Linked DNA regions of Homo sapiens: all the other regions are linked to region 2. The links are contacts of gene promoters, found by promoter capture Hi-C in blood cells and fetal thymus (Javierre and others, 2016). All regions are on one chromosome and are shown on one strand. The core of a region is centred on a gene start or on the middle of the fragment in contact, and the rest is flanking DNA. Distances in the headings are between cores, read along the strand shown. Region 1 has its middle 260 kb from the start of LINC01192. Region 2 holds the start of SLITRK3 (SLIT and NTRK like family member 3). Region 3 has its middle 240 kb from the start of LINC01192. Region 4 overlaps ZBBX (zinc finger B-box domain containing).

Region 1 (2,700 bases), core at 183-2,682, 2.1 Mb before region 2:
ATTGTCTTATAGATTTTAGTTTTGAAGTAATGTTGAATATAAGATCTTTATCACACGTGTGTGTGTATATATGTATATATGAAATCAGTTTAAAGTATTTTCTTCTATTGTATGGTACATTTTTCACATTCTGAATAATCTTTTAGATGATAATTAATAATTTAAATATAATACATATTATCAAATTTTTGATTTGATAATGCAGGAGCGGTTTATAAGGTCATGCTGTTTAGGCTGAATGCTTGCAGAGCGGATGCCTGGGTGCAGGTGGGCTGTGAGCTGAGCAATGGTTAACAGGATGCTTGGGTGCTGGTGGGCCTTTTGTGGTTGACTCCATTTGTTGGAATATTCTCCCTGTTTCTATTTTTGTCAGCTAAGCACATGCTTCAGTTTTCTTTTAACTCCTTAGGTCTCCACAATGAGTAAATATAGGCTGTAGCAGAGTTTATGGAGGTTAAGCAGTATGTGGTACCATAGCAAGAAGTTCAAAAATATCTAGTAGTCAACGTCTGACTTCCTGATTGAGTATATATTCCTTTTGTATTTGTTCAGTATGATGGCCTTCTCATATTTTCTGTTTTTCTTTTACTAAAATGTAAGTCAGTCACTAAAATACACACACACAAACACACACACACATCTGTATGCATGTATCTACATACAAACATGTATTTGAAATCTAAATATACATTATCATGAGCAATGATAAAGTTTTACAATATAGCTTTACCCTTCATGAAATATTGAACAAAGGAAAATAAAAGGAGTTGATAACATCAACAGATAGATGTCCGTCTATTACATCTATGGCCTTCATGCTAAATGTTTATATGATGGTAGGTTTTTATAAGCTCTATTTGCTTTACTTCTTGCCAGCAATCATAACTTTGAAAAACATTTCTGAATTTTTTCCCTTTTTGGTAATTTTTTTTTACAAATATAATAAAGATTTATTAGACAATCAAGTCATTATTCAAGACCATGGGGCATATGTTTAACATACTTGTCTTACTGAGCATGATATATAAGTATGCTTGTATATATTTTTTGGATGTATGTATATCTGAAAGTACTAAACAAAGTAATTTTTTTTTCATTTCATCCTCTTAAAACGTTTTCTGCTGAAGCTGTTTTGAACACAGTTTGTTCAAGAATGGTTCTAAAGGAAAGTAGATGCTACCTTTAGAAGAAGAACCCATGCCATTTAATTACAAACACCCACAGGTTTTGTGTGTGTGTGTGTGTGTGTGTGTATTTGTGTGTATGTGTGTGTTATGTTCTGTGTATATTGGGTTGCAATATAAAATTTACTTCTATCTTTCAGTTGTAGTAAAAAAGTTTGAAAGTCATTGTGGTAATTTACATAGTCCTCTCTCCCTTCATCTTTCGGGGTAGAGAGCAATATACAATTATTTAAGCATTTTTTCAAAGGAGACTTGTGCTGGCTGAAGAAAAGATTTAAATTGTTGAATTAACAAATTCACACATATAGTGCCATGACTCAGGACAAAGTGACATTGTGGAATGGAGAAATTGCAGTGGAATGCAGTGGAGGAAGAATGACCTTTTGAAAATGATGTTAGGTCAATTGAATATACAAAGAAGGAAAAAAAACTTCCTCACATTCTACACAAAAAAACAATTTCAGATAGAATGTATATTAATCTAAAAAGTACAAAAGTAAGTCTATTAGAATAAAATGTAGGGGAATAATTGTCTTTCAGTTCAGTAAAGATATCTGAAAAGGAGTGCAAAAATTGCTACTATAAAGGAAAAATTTGATAATGTATAGTATATTTAAATTATAAATTAATCTATTATTAAGAATGTGAAAAATGTAACATAGAATGGAAAAAATATTTTAAATTTAATTCATATATACCTATACATACACACATATATGATAAAGGTGTTACATTCGACCTTGTTTCAAAACTAAAATCAGTAAGACAATCTAATAGAAAATTTGGAAAAAGATTTGAACAGGGCTTATAGACAAGAAGATATCAAAATATCCAAAAAAAGAGAAAAAAGTTCTAACTCATCAAGCAATAGTAAAATGCAAAACAAACTCAGAATGAGATGCTATATACAACACAACACCCACCAGGAGAGCTAAATGAAAAATGCTGACAAGACCTAGTATCGGCAAGAATGTAAAGAAAACAGAGCTCTTACACATTGCTGGTGGGAGAGTAAATGTGTATACCTATTTTGGTACTGTCTTTGGAAAACTCTTTCAGAATATGTCTAAGAGCTCATGATAGGCATTCTCTATAAGCAACAATTCAGATTTAAGGTATAAAACCCATATAAACAGATAGAGTCATGTAGTCATGTTCCGCATAACCACATTTCAGTCAGTGATGGATCCCATATTCTACAATGGTTCAGTAAGGATATAATGGAGCTACAAATTTTCCATTGACTAGTGACATGGTAACATTTTATCACAAGGCATTCCTCACATGTTTGTGGTGATGCTGGTGTAAACAAATCTACTGCTTTGCCAGTCATACAAAATGATAGAAAATATAACATGTACAGTACAGAACACTTAATACATAATATAATATGTATAGTACAGAACACACAATAATTAATGGTAGTCAATAAACAACAATGTTACTTGTTTATGTATTTACTATCCTACATTTTTATTGTTATTTTAGATGATACTCCTCTGCTTATTGAAAAAAA
Region 2 (2,700 bases), core at 179-2,678:
GCGCCCAGAGCCATTTGTTTGTCCAGAGGGAGGACAAGAAGCCCTTTCTCCCTGCTGTGCCCCCTTCCCACTTCCTCCTCCCCACTGCTGGATCTTACAGCTCACTAATTTTTTCAGATCTAAGATTAAGTATTCCAATATGGAAGCAAAACTATCTTCCCTAGAACAAATAATTAAAACGCTGCATCATTCATTTTCTGAAGAGCTTTGAGCCGTCTATAGAGCCTTTTCTAATCTGCTGTCGTCAGGCGAAACGCACAATGGTCTGTTTAGAAACGGAAAATTATTAAAAGCTCAAGCCTTTTTCCTTCTACCTCTTACAACACCAGCGAGCATTCCACTGGGGGAGGGGTCCTTCGCTCCGCCACCTGGCCTATTTGTTGGAGTTACTTACGATGTCTTCACCCAGAAAAGAGGTCCGAGGGTATGTTAGTCTCCGGTACCCCTCCTTCCACCAACGTCCTTACACCTAACTGATCCAATTCAAAACTGCAACAAACCCCTAGCACCTGTGAGCGTACAGAATACACCGCGGCCAAACTCGATGTGCTCTACAATGCACATCCTACATACGAGAAATACTGGTTTCAATTAGGCGAAGTAGGAAAGGATGGCGGCGAGTACCTATGGTGCAGAGCGCTCAGGATCTCCGAGGTTTGCTGCGAGGGGCTACCCAGCAGGAGGGGCAAACTCTCTGCGAAGCTGAATTGTATCCATCATACTGTAGCCTTGTAGCTTCTCCTCTTCTGGCCACCAACTTTCCGAAAGGCTACCGAATCACGCTTGTAATCCGTTTAAATGTTTCCACCTTTGAGACTTGCAGGGAAATGGTCGCTGCATACCAATGGGAGAGCGGGGCGCGCACCTAGCGCGGCGATGCCAGCGACAGGGAGCTCACGACCACAGCTCCCTATGCCCTCGATGGTTGGTAGGCAGGCAGGCAGAGTGAGTGTCCCAGGACTAGGTTCCTTTGATTTAAAATCTCGGTGCTCTGGATCAGTGGAGAGCTTCGTTGTTCCCGAGAGCCTGAGCTCAGTCTCTGGATTTCTCTCTTTCTCTCTTCCTCAAAGGTTGTCACTCACAGCGCAATCCCTGCCCGAGGCCTCCTTCCATCCGAGAAGATGGAATTAGCCCTTGCTTTTCCAGGGTGTCTTTGCTCTTTGCCCTTTAGGTGGGTGGGAGTGGGGGTTGGTGGCGTGTAGATGAGAGAAGAAAAGGGTGGGGAGAGGCGGAAAGGAGGCAGGAAGGGGGCGACTAGATCTCAGATCCCAGCATTGGTCAGACGGCGAAGGTGGGGGGAAAGAAGGAGAGGGGGAGAGAAGATACAAATACACAGTATGGCTGTGCACACCAAATTCCACTTGGATTTGGGAGATCTCAGGCAAAGCACGAAGGTGAAGCGATACCGTTGGCAGAGAGTGAGTCCTCTGACCGCTCACCATTCAAGCACCCTCACTTCTCGAGCGGGAGAAGGTGCGGGGGAGGGGGGTGGGAGGGGGAGGGGACTGCTGAACGTTTCAGGCCAAGGAGACGCTCGCGGCGGCGGCGGCGGCGGCATCTTTTAAGACTGACCTGCTTTAAAAGTGCCACTTTAATGGCCTAGGAAATAACTAAAATCGGATTACACGTTACTTACCAACGTCTCCTCCTAAACTGGAGCGCCAGGTCGTGTATAAGGAGTCAATATAGGAAACGCAGGGCTGGAACCTGAATGCAAATCCATCAGCCGCCCCCAAATCGCGCACCAAGGGAGCGGCGCTCGGGAGCCCCCAGATCAGCCCATCGCCGGAGCTCCGCCAGCGCGTCCCCCCCGCACCCCCGGCCCCTCCTCCGCGCCAACTGTGTAAATCAGCCGCCGCAGTCCTCTCGCCGCGCATCGCAGGCAAAATCCCGGCTTAGGAAGCAAGGAAGCAAGTGATCTCTCTCTCTCTCTCTCTCTCTGTCTCTCTCTCTCTCTCTCTCTCTCTCTCTCCTCTCTCTGTCTCTCTCTCTCTCGCTCTCTCTCTCGCTCTCGCTCTCGCTCTCTCTCTCTCGCTTTCGCTGTCCGCCTTTCCCTCTCCCCCATTATCGGTCACAACCTGGCAGCTCTTCAAGAGACACCCTGTGAAATTGAGTGTCGGGAAGTCAGCATTCTGTACCCGTGGATTGATTTGTAACTTTTATTTGCAAATGAGAGAGATGCCTGTTTGGAAAATTACAGCCCAAAAGGTGGAGGGTGATCAAATTAAGAACATCTGAGCTGTATTGGTGGGCGGTATCGCTAAACGCCTCCGGGGAGCGGTTTCCAAGTGATTTGCAGTAATCCCCCACCTTCATGATACATGGGTGACGATTTGAAAGTACACATATTTCCTCATCTGTTTACATTTGCCGGGGGCGGGGGGCATAAAACTGTAGGGCACAGGGAGTTGGGAGGGGGGCATTTGCCTGAGAGATGCTGGATACCATTTCGCGATAAATTAGATACGGACACTGGAACAATTAATACGTGTAATAACACGTATGTGAAAGTATTATTACAACATTACAGAGGCGACCATTACCCCCACTGCAGTCATACTAATGCAGTCATTCGTTTAATGCTCCATTCAATCTGCAGTGTAAACCAACGCAATTCTTTTTAATAGATCCCTTTCATCAGAGACTGTGTTGGAAAGAGGGCAGTCTTCCACTAACTCCCAAAGTGAATAGAAGGTAGCC
Region 3 (2,700 bases), core at 66-2,565, 2.1 Mb before region 2:
TATCAAAAGGGGAGATCAGCCTCCCTTGCACACCCCCAGGAAAGGAACTGAGTCCAGGGGGCTGGGCAGCAATGGCCTGCAGTCTCGCTTCCATGGCACCTCACAGGACAAGACCCATTTAACTGGGATTCCAGCCTCCCATGGCCTGTGTACTTTGGCGAGCACCAATGCTCCACATCTATGACACTGGGGTTCCAGATGGAGGGGCAGGCTACCATATTTACTGTTTTCCAGCCTTCCCTGATGCTGCTTTCAGACTCTATAGAGTCTGAGGGGACTGAGAACTGGAGTGGACCCTCAGTGCAGCATGACTTCCCTGTGGAGAAGTGGCCATTTTTTGCATGGGTCCCTGATCCCATTTCTTCTCCCTTGGCAAGACCTCCTGACCAGGGGCTCCAGACACACCTGCTGCAGTTCTCAGGCCAGGAAGGACTGCATCTCCCTGAAACAGAGTACCCACAGAGAGGAGCAGGCCACCATTTTGCTCTTTTGTAGCCTTCACAGCTGCTGTCTTCAGGCTCTGGGGAGTCCAAGGTAACCAGTGCCTGAAGCAGATTGCCAGCACAGCACAGCCATCCTATGGAAAGGCAGTCAGACCATTTTACACAGGTTCCCAATCCCATTTCTCCTCATTGGGCAGGATCTAGAGCTGTGGTGTGCAGTGCCAAGCTTTGATCTGCAGCTCTCAAGTGGGAGAGGAACCCACATTTTCAGAGCATTGAGAGGGAGCACAGCTACAGCTGCAAGGAAATATAGAAAAAAACACGTGACTAAACAAGAGCCTACCTACTGACAATTACACTTAGACACTTACTAGAATGAGAGCCCACCTACTGTGCCCTACTAACTGGCAGTTACACTTAAACACCTACTAGAATGACAGTCCACATACTGGAATGAGAGCCCACCTACTAACCTACTGTATTCTACCCCCAAAATTCAACACCAAAAGTACTTTGCTAACATACCCTGCTGTGAAACCAAAGACACGAAGTCAGCTGCAAACAAAGATGCTGCATGAATCCTTGGCCTTCTGGGAACATCCAGAAAAAAATTCTACTGACTGTATTCAATCTACATCACAGTTAAAGAAACATTTACACACAGAGATGAGAATCAGTGCAAGAATTCCGGTGACTCAAATGGTCAGAGCCTTCTGTCCTCCAAATGACTGAACTAATTCTCTAACAAGGGCTCTTAACTCGGCTGAAATAGCTGAAATGACAGAAACAGAATTCAGAATATGGATAAAAATGAAGATCATTGAGATTCAGGAAAATGTCAAAACCCAATTCTAGGAAGCTAAGATTCACAATAAAATGATACAAGAGGTGACAAATGAAATAGCCAGTATACAAAAGAACCTAACTGAACTAATAGAACTGAAAATCATACTACAAGAATTTGATAAAGCAATTGCCAAGTATTAACAACAGAATAGGCTGAGCTGAGAAAAGAATCTAAGAGCATGAAGGCTGTCTCTCTGAAATAGACAGTCAGACAAAAATAAAGAGAATAAAAAGGAATGAACAAACCATCAGGAAATAGTGAATTACATAAAGAGGCCAAATTGATGAATCATTGGTGTCCCTGAAAGAAATGGGGAGAAAGCAAGCAACTTGGAAAATATATTTCAAAACATTATTGATGAAAATGTCCCAAAACTTGCCAGAGAGGTGGCCAACAGCTGAATTTAAGAAATGCAAAGAATTCCCTGCAAGATAATACACTAGACTATCATCCCCAGGAAACATAATTATCAGATTTTCCAAGGTCCAAATGAAAGACAAATATGTTAAAAGCAGCTAGAGAGAAAGGCCAGGTAACCTGCAAAGACAACCCCATCAGGCTAACAGCACACTTTTCAGCAGAAACCCTGTAGGCTAGAAGAGATTGGGTGCCAATATTCAACATTCTTAGAGCAAAAATCCTCAAACCAAGAATTTCATATTTAGTGAAACTAAGCTTCAAAGGTGAAAGAGAAATAAGATCCTTCTCAGAGAAGCAAATGCTGAGAGAATTATTTACCACCAGACTTGCCTTGTAAGTGGTCCTTAAAGGAACACTAAATATGGAAAGTAAGGTCAATGATCAGCCAATCCAAAAACATTCTTAAGTACATAGACCTGTGATACTATAAAGCAACCACAGAAACAAGTCTGCACCACAATTACCTAACACAATGACAAGATAAAATCCACACATATTTATACTAACCTTGACTGTAAACACACTAAGTGTTCCAATTAAAAGTCACAGAGTGGCATGCTGGATAAAGAAAAAAACACAATGTATTCTGTCTTCAAGAGAGCTATCTTGCATTCAATGACACCCATCTCAAAATAAAGGAATAGAGAAAAATGAACCTAGCAAGTGGAAAACAGAAAAAAGCAAAGGTTGCAATCCTAATTTTAGACAAAACAGGCTTTCAACCCACAAATACCAAAAAAAAGAAAGACCAGAAAATGGCATTAAGATATATGTGGTAAAGGGATCAATTCACTTTAAAAAACCTAACTATCCTAAATATATATGCACCCAACACAAGAGCACCCAGATTCATAAAGTAACTTCTTAGAGGCTTAGGAAGAGACTTGGACTCCCATAAAATAATAGTGGGAGACTTCCACACCACACTTACTATATTAGACAGACATCAAGGCAGACAATTTACAAAGATATTCAGGTCTTGAACTCAAC
Region 4 (2,700 bases), core at 108-2,607, 2.2 Mb after region 2:
ACTGGGAAGTGTCTAAAACGTTGCCCCTAACAACTAGAAAAAGACAAGGATGCCTACTTTTACCACTTCTATTCAACATAGTACTGGAATTCCTAGCCAGAACAATCAGGCAAAAGAAAGAAATAAAAGGCATCCAAATTGGAAAAGAGGAAGTCAAATTATTTATGTTTGCTAATGATGTTATCTTATGCCTAGAAAACCCTAATGGCTTCTCTGACACACTCATCAATTGATTGGATAAAGAAAATATTGTAAGATATATACCATGGAATACTACTCCACTATGAAAAAGAATGATTTTACATCTTTTACAGCAACATGAAAGGAACTAGATGGAGGCCATTATCCTAAGTGAAATAACTCATAAACAAGAAGTCAAATACTGCATGTATTACTTGTAAGTGGGAGAGCTAAACAATGGGTGTTAACTAAACACATGGACATACAGAGTAGAAAAATAGACACTGGACACTCCATACATTGGAAGGGTGGGAAAGGGGTAAAGACTGAAAAATTACATAGTGGCTATGATGTTCCCATTCAGATGATGGGTACTAAAAGCCCAGACTTCATCACTACACAATATATCCAGATAACACAACTTCACTTGTACCAACTAAATCTATAAAAATAAAAATAATAATAATAAATTATAACAGAGCAGTGATATTATATGTTTTATCTCATTTAATCCTCACAACAACTCTATAAATTTACAATCACCCTTGTATCTCCATAATGAAGAAGAGATAACAAAAGAACATAATGATGAAGAATTTGTCCAGAGTCATACAAGCTAATAGTGGTGGGGACAGGAATTCAATCCTACCATGTGGCTCAAAGCTTAAACCCTTAACCACAACAAACATTACTAATCTTTAAATTAATCATTTACAATAAACTAAAATAGTGATCAGTTACAGACACTCTTCAACTTACAATGTGGCTACTGCCCAATAAACCCATCATAAATTGAAAACATTGTAAGTTGAAAATATATTTAGTACAAATAACCTACTAAGCATCATAGCTTAGCCTAGCTAACCTTAAATGTGCTCAAAACACTTACATTAGCCTACATTTGAGCAAAATCATCTAACACAAACCTATTTTATAATAAATTGTTGAATATCTTGTGTTTTTTTTAACCTTCATGATCACATGGCTGACTATGAGCTTCCTAGCATCGTATTTTACCACATATCACTAGCCTGGGAAAATATCAGAATTCGAACTTTGAAGTATGGTTTCTACTGAATACATACTGTTTTTACACATCATAAAGTCAAAAAATTGTAAGTGAAAAATGGTAAGTCAGGGACCATTTATATCGAAAAACCTTGATAAAATCCACAATAAAATAAAATTCAGTATTTAAAAAGAATGCATGGTCTGGTATGTATCAAAATCCAAATGTATGTTTTTCAAGTGTGATTAGCTAAAAGATGATGGAATTTTTACTTAATCTGAAGAAAAAAAAACACTATCCCTAGCATAGAAACTAGTCCCCTCTTTCCATTCTTGTTTCATGAGCTTCATTCTTCTAGAGAAATGATAAAAACATTATCCTAAATCCGTAATTTTAAGTGTAAAATAAACTTTAAAACTATAATTTTATATAAATACATGGTTATATCATTATATTAATATGGATTTCAAAATATATTCTGCATAATTTTTATTTAATATAACTTGCTAATTTTAAGTGAATTTTTCCTAAACATTTGGCACTGTTTTTACACTATAATGCAGAAAACTGAAAATGAGTTTCAGCATATAATTCTAAGCCAAGTGTCTGTTAACAACATACTTTTAGTAAAAGTAGCCAAACGAATATTTGTAGACTGGAAGATCAATGCTGGACTTGCAGAGTAAGCTTATATATTTTGTTATACAAGGATATTTGGATTAAAATTGAGTTAAAATGACCTCCAATTGGAAAATCTTTTTAGGCAGTTTGTACAACTGGCAGAAACATGCTAAAAATGTAAATAAGGACTCCTTCCCACCACAGATGCTTCCTCAATGATGGAATATCCAACTGCAGTTTTAACAAATATCTTGTTAATTTGATGAATGCCAGATCAGTTGTGCTAAGCTTCAGAATCCATTTGAGTTTAATTAAATTATTCACATTTGCCAAATTAATATATAAGAAAAGTGGAACTTTTGGGCTTCGTCTTTGCCATCAATATATGTAAATGGATAGGTCATTTAAAAATTTGCCAACAACAAAACACACTGTTTATTGTCTTCCGTCTATGTGCTGGACACAATGCTAAATATTTTACATGTATTAACTCATTACGTGTGATAACTTTGAGGTACAGATTACTGTTATCCGTAGTAACCTATTTCACAAATGAGGAAACAGAGATAAAGAGGGATTAAGTCATTTGCTGAAGGTCACATAGCTAATAACAGGTAAAGTTGAGTTTCAAACTCCCAAAACACAAGCCCTTAACTCCTATCTCCCATACACAATTTTCCCTGGTGAAGGCCAAGGATATACATATATCTATATCTATATACATAGATATATATATCCTTTATATATATATTCATATATACACATATGTGGCTTTCAAATATATATATTCACTCATTATCCAGTCAGCATAACCATATGCAATGACAGATGCTAAGAACACAAGATAACATCAGAGTTTAACAATACCATGGTCTACTTCACTAAATCTG

The links. Contacts are between HindIII fragments. The CHiCAGO score rates a contact against its expected background, and 5 or more counts as called.
Region 1: a contact is called between a fragment that was not itself captured here and the fragment with the promoter of SLITRK3 in region 2, in 1 of 17 cell types (M0 macrophages). The highest score is 6.3, in M0 macrophages.
Region 3: a contact is called between a fragment that was not itself captured here and the fragment with the promoter of SLITRK3 in region 2, in 1 of 17 cell types (M2 macrophages). The highest score is 6.8, in M2 macrophages.
Region 4: a contact is called between a fragment that was not itself captured here and the fragment with the promoter of SLITRK3 in region 2, in 1 of 17 cell types (M2 macrophages). The highest score is 6.4, in M2 macrophages.

Annotation. Positions count from the first base shown.
Region 1 is chr3:163,045,861-163,048,560 of GRCh38, forward strand. No RefSeq gene overlaps it. Among named protein-coding and RNA genes, the nearest start is that of LINC01192, 260 kb to the right of the region's middle. The HindIII fragment of the contact is 3,037 bases long and covers 1-2,700 here.
Region 2 is chr3:165,194,956-165,197,655 of GRCh38, forward strand. It overlaps SLITRK3 (SLIT and NTRK like family member 3), which reads right to left and starts at 1,429. Exons shown (of 2, transcript NM_001318810.2): 1 at 625-1,429. The HindIII fragment of the contact is 7,642 bases long and covers 1-2,700 here.
Region 3 is chr3:163,062,909-163,065,608 of GRCh38, forward strand. No RefSeq gene overlaps it. Among named protein-coding and RNA genes, the nearest start is that of LINC01192, 240 kb to the right of the region's middle. The HindIII fragment of the contact is 1,296 bases long and covers 668-1,963 here.
Region 4 is chr3:167,353,023-167,355,722 of GRCh38, forward strand. The region is part of intron 8 of ZBBX (zinc finger B-box domain containing); the gene reads right to left. Among named protein-coding and RNA genes, the nearest start is that of ZBBX, 26 kb to the right of the region's middle. The HindIII fragment of the contact is 1,033 bases long and covers 842-1,874 here.